2 separate regions of the Homo sapiens genome follow, and region 1 is linked to region 2. Evidence: promoter capture Hi-C in 16 types of primary human blood cells and fetal thymus (Javierre and others, 2016). All regions are on one chromosome and are shown on one strand. Each heading gives the region's core, a stretch centred on a gene start or on the middle of the fragment in contact. The rest is flanking DNA. Distances are from core to core; before and after follow the strand shown.

What was found. Contacts are between HindIII fragments. The CHiCAGO score rates a contact against its expected background, and 5 or more counts as called.
Region 1: a fragment that was not itself captured here is called in contact with the fragment with the promoter of GRIA4 in region 2 in 2 of 17 cell types (monocytes and M2 macrophages); the score reaches 6.4 in monocytes.

What each region holds. Positions count from the first base shown.
Region 1 is chr11:104,663,431-104,666,320 of GRCh38, reverse strand. No RefSeq gene overlaps it. Among named protein-coding and RNA genes, the nearest start is that of LINC02552, 56 kb to the right of the region's middle. The HindIII fragment of the contact is 942 bases long and covers 996-1,937 here.
Region 2 is chr11:105,608,715-105,611,505 of GRCh38, reverse strand. It overlaps GRIA4 (glutamate ionotropic receptor AMPA type subunit 4), which reads right to left and starts at 1,433. Exons shown (of 17, transcript NM_000829.4): 1 at 1,078-1,433; 2 at 421-598. The coding sequence starts at 508. RefSeq lists a silencer at 257-457. The HindIII fragment of the contact is 4,294 bases long and covers 1-2,791 here.

The DNA of each region.
Region 1 (2,890 bases), core at 217-2,716, 950 kb after region 2:
AATGCTCTGTGTTCCACCTATTTATTTCTGCCTCCTTCTCTCCCTGTACCCCCACACACCAGGCAATCACTTTTTTATTTTATTTTTTTACTGTCTCTATACAGTTTTCTCTTTCCCAGAATATCACATAGTTACAATCATATAGTATGTAGAGCTTTCACATTGCCTTCTTTCACTTGGTAATAGACACTTACGTTTTATCTATGTCCTTCTATGGCTTGATAACTCCTTTCTCTTTAGTGCTAAATAATAGTCCATTGCCTGTATATATAACAGGCTATTTATTCATTCACTTATTGAAAGACAGCTTGGTTGCTTCCATTTTTTTGGCAATTATAAATACAGCTGCTATAAATGTTCATATGCAGGTCACTGTGTGGGCATAAATTTTAAGTCATTTGGGTAAATATCACAGAGTGAATTGCTGGATCATGTGGTAAAACTCTGTTTAGCTTTGTAAGAAACTGCCAAACTGTCTTCCAAAGCAGCTGTACTATTTTGCAATCACCAGCAATGAGTAGAATTTCCTTTCGCGCTTCCTTCTTGTCAGTATTTGGTGTTGTCAGTGTTCTGAATTTAAGTCATTTTAATAGGTGTGTAGAGGTGTCTCGTTGTTTGAATTTTCAGTTTCCTAATGGCATATAATGTGGAACATCTATTTATCTTTGTTTTGCTTGCCATCTGCTTATCTTCTTTGATGAGATGTCTCTTCAGATCTTTTGCCCATTTATTTATTGGGTTGTTTGCTTACTATTGTTGAATTTTAAGACTTCTTTGTACATTTTGGATAATAGTCCTTTTTCAGGTATGTGTTTTGCAAATATTTTCTCTCATCCTGTGGCTTCTTTTTTTAAATCTCTCAATTCATTGACTTGTCACTCAGGAAAAGCACTAGCCTTTAAGTGAAACATCAAAAGTGAAAAATATATTGAACGTGTCAGGCACTGTGCAAAAAACATAATGGTGAATGAGACAATCCTTTTATTCAAGAAGCTTAGTAAACAAAGAAAGAGATAGAAAAAAAAAGATGATTAATCCATAATGTGTGTTACAACAAGGATGATAAAGAGGGTATATTCAAGGTGCACATAACAGCCCATGGAGAATCAGGCAAGTCTTCCTGGAGGAGGTGCCTTCAGATCTGAAATTTAAAATATGTTTAATAATGGGTAAGGAGTAGACTTTGCAGAAAATGCATGTGTTATGAGGCAAGACATTAAAAAGAGAAACAGCATGGTTTGGAAAGGGTACCACTAGCCTTTTGGTATTTGAGTCAGGGAATGATGAGCAACGAGATTGGAGGGCTGAGATGGAAATAGATAGTGGGGACCCTCATATTCCCAATTAGAGAGATTGATCTGCATCCAAGAGGTGTCTTGGAGTATTTAGAGAAAATTAAACACTAAGTAAAATTGTGAATTCTCCTATCAAGAAAGAAAGGCAGAGAGAATAAAGCATAGATCATCCCTTCCTCTGTTTATGTTGCTATGCAAGAAAGCCTAAATCTGGGTAATTTATAACGAAAAGAGGTTTATTTGGCTCATGATTCTGCTGACTATACAGGAACCACGGCACCAGCACCTGCTTCTGATGAGGGTCTCCGACTGCTTCTGTTCATGGCACAAGGTGAAGGACAGCCAGTGTGTAAAGAGCACATGGCAAGAGAGAGGAAAAGTGGGGATCCACCCCCACGACCCAAACACCTTTCACCAGGACCCATCTCCAACTTTGGGGAACAAATTTTAATGTGAGATTTGGTGGAGACAAATGTTCAAACCATACCAGATAACTCACAACATCTGCCACTATGCTTCTGTTAAGGAAAAAGGTAAGATTAAAAAAAATAGTTTGTGTCTTAAGGAATATGTGTAAGTTCACCAGCAAAGCATGGATGCCTAATCTGGTAAACAATAATAGAAGGAAACGAAAAGTAAGCTTTCATATGCAACTGAAAACTTGAGGAAAAGGCAACAAATTTAGTTCAGTAAAAGGATGGGTTTTCCTCTCTAGCTTTGTGAAAAAAGCCTACTGGTTAATTAGTACAAACGTATTCATTTTAATATCCAGCTCTGTCCATGATTTGAATATACAATGATCATAGTAGCAATTCTTCTTTCCTTATCATTTTATATTATTTTACAAAGCTCAAAGTTAACGTCAGAGGATATTTCTTCAGGACTCCACAATAGTTAAAATGGAAGAGATAAATTTGCATTTAAAAATTTCAGACGTTTCTGCCAAAGTTCACCTTCACTGAGTAGCTCATTTACCTCAAGACTTTATTTAAAGGCAATTGTGCCTGAGAGCATCAGAAATTGTAATGTGGTCTCATTAAAAACCTCAGCACAGCTAAACTCCCATGGAGGATGGAGGAAACTGGAAGAGGCATTCCTTTTATTCTGACCACAGGTAAACAAAAAATTTCACAAGTTTTCATGAACCCATCAGAAAACTGATGTTACATGACAATCAAATAGACTAAAATCTGATGAGATAGGAGTTCCCTGGATGAGACAGGACATGAACCCAGGATTACTTGGCAGAACACTAGAGAAAGACATGCCAGTTGGGCAACAAACCAGTAAGGATTCAGCTCCATGTTCCCCAGATTCCTAAAGGGCAGGAAGAGGCTCATTAAGAGCATGATGTCACATCATCATGTGGCTCTCTGGGAGCCACAGACACAGGGGTACTTTACTCACATTCACAAGCTCTTCTTCATGAACCTCCACTGGGTGCTCGCCAAAACGACTGGGACCAGGCAAAAAGGCTCTGGTGGTACATGCCTAGTAAGGCAGTTTCTTACAAAGTTAAACATATACCTGAACTACAATTGAGCAATCCAACTTCTCTAAGTATTTACCCAAGAGAAAGAAACACTTTTATTCAC
Region 2 (2,791 bases), core at 184-2,683:
AGCAAGAAAGCTGCGGCGTCCAGAATGGGAAGAAGTGGATTTTTTTTTTCTTTTTTAAACAAACTCGACATCACTTTATGCTTTAGAGAAAGGGATGGAAATAAATATCATATAAAATACAACCAAATTCCCCGAAGACTTTCCCCCAACTTATTTCAATCCTACTTAAGCGACTATAGGTAAAGGTGGAAATAGGGCTATGGGCTGAGAACGCATGGGTGGGCTGCCCTGGGTGTATTCCAACGGAACCTGCACTAAAGAGGAAGTCTTTTTGCAAAGGAGAGAAAGGAAGAGGAGGGAAACAGAGGGGAAGGGAACTGCTGAAGGTTTCCCTGAATTGCTTATCAGCAACTCATTTAACTCACTTTCGGATATCTGCTACAACCAGCCACATGCACACCCCATCGGAGCACACCTTACCTATTTGCACGCTGCTCGGAAAGGCTCCCATGGCGAGTCCCCAAAATCCAGAAAATAACAAGACAATCTGTCTGGAAATAATCCTCATCTTCTTTTCTCCTCTCCCTGGCGCGCGCTCTCTCTCTTTCTCTCGCACTCTTCCTAAAGGCTGTTCAGAGAAGCATTGAAGACGATGGCGCTAAAATTAAAATCAACCAAAAAAAAAAAAAAAAAAAGAAAAGAAAGAAAAGAAAGAAAAAAAAGGAAAGAGGTTTCGGTGGTTTAAGATTATGACTAGTTCTCCTTAGCAATCCATCGCGAGCCGCCAGATTTTTCCCGCAGTCTCCATAGCCCTGGGAGAGGTTTTCTGTCCGGCTGCAAATGTTGCACATGCAAAAGATGGTGGTGGAGCGTCTAGTGGCTGCTCGCAGGGATGAGACATGCGCTCTATCTTTGCCTCACTCGCACTCGCGCTCGCCCCTTGCTTTCTCACATACACACAAACACTGGCGCCGCGGCCGCCACACGCGCTCTCCAGCTCGCATCAGCCGACATCCCCCAGCAAGCCTGCACCAGCCCGGAGCATCGCTGCCCTCCTGGCGTCCCCTCCTCGAGCGCGCACTCCCTCCGCACGCCCCTCGCCCACCGCTCGGCTGGCTTCACCCCCTGGGTGCTCACCGGAGCGCCCCAGTCTCCCGGACGCTCCGGAGCCAGTCTGGTGTCAGGTTTTCCCTTCTGACCACTCGCTGACTCCCTCCTCTTTTCTTCCTCGGTTCGCAGAGGGACCGACTCTGGGGATGGGCACCCCCAGCGCCCCTCTCTTGGTTTTCCTGGCACCTCTGCTTCTCGGCTGCGCTAGGCAGAAAATCCGCCCACGGGCCAGGTCTGCAAGCCCCAATCGGGGGCTCCGGGGGGTTAGTACCTCCCCATGCCCCCAGGCCCCTGCCGCATCCTTGCAGGTTCGTGAGGAGGACGGGCTGCCTCCCTCTCCTACAGTCCTGGCTTCCCTCTCAGCCTAGCCCTCTTCTGCCACTGGGCTGCGCGCGGGGGACTCCGGTCCTCGCTGCAGCAAAGATTTCTCACCAGCAAACAGCCCGGGAATCTGGAGAGCCTGACAAGGGAATGGATGAGGTGAAAGGGTTCAGAGAGGGATGGGAGGAGAAAAGACAGGCAAAGGGCAGCCCCTGGCGGGTTTAAGAGGCCAGGACCAGGATGAAAGAATTGGAGGAGGTAAGGATGGGGAAGAGAGCCAGAGAAGTTGAAACATCCTGGGAAGGGGAGGAGGGGGTAAAAGGTTATTTTAAATAACTGACGAAGTTTAGGGTACTGAACGGGATGGGGAAAAGACTGAGAAATGAAAATTGAAAGAGGCCTCTAACATTCTCTTGGAAAGGCATGAAGCAGGGATAGGAATAAGAACTGCGTGAAGTGTAAAGTAGGAAAAGTGATTAAAGATTCGATTGCTTTCTATACAGTCACCCATTCCGGAGGACTCTTTCCTTCTGTGCTGTGGCCCATTGCAGGAGCAGGAGGGACACAGCGCAAAGGCTGATGAAGGACCAGAGGGGCAGTGCTTGGGGCAGTGGGCACAGGTGTCTGACAGGAAGATAGTGTTTCGTGCACATCTCCTCTTGTCTGGGACTCTGGAATGCTCACTCTGCTCCACGCCACCTCCAGGTAGACTTAAGCACTTCAGTGATGATGTCAATAGTTGTTTTGACTGGGTAGAAGTGAAAATGAATTATCCTAGAAAGTTTTGGGGTTACAGTCTCACTTGCTCTCCAGAGTCACCTTTAAGATTGTCCTTTCATCTGCCTGTCCTGGACTGAGCTTGAACCACACTCAGAAGCAGTCACTGTGGTAGCCGTGAGTGACCGGTTTCTGATTTCCTCTGTATGGTTTGAGATTTCCTGATCTAGTTAGTAAATACAATCTCCTGTTCCAATAAGCTGTGTGAGAGAATCATTAGAAGGAGAGGTTCTCCTTAAACGTTAGGGAACCTAGGGTGATGTCTGCCATTAAATTTTTAAAAAGAATATAGCAAATGCCTAGGTTTGCCTGATATAATATTTGAGACTACAATGCTTAAAGTGGAATTCTTGCAAGGGACTTACAGAAAGCCTGGTAACGGCTTTTTGAAATATACATTACCTTAACTCTTTCAAAATACTTTATTTGGTGTCACTGATTACCTGTATTTGTAGTTTGTAGATGACATTTTAAAATCCCTGCTAAAACTTGAGTGCTTTTCTATTTCCTAAGTTTTGAATTTTATTTTTAAAATTGCATCTTTAAAATAAGTGTCTGCTTTCCCGTTACATTTCACCACAGATTGTTATGAAAAAAAAAACCTAATTGTAACTGTATTTTACAAATCATACATTTGTCATTT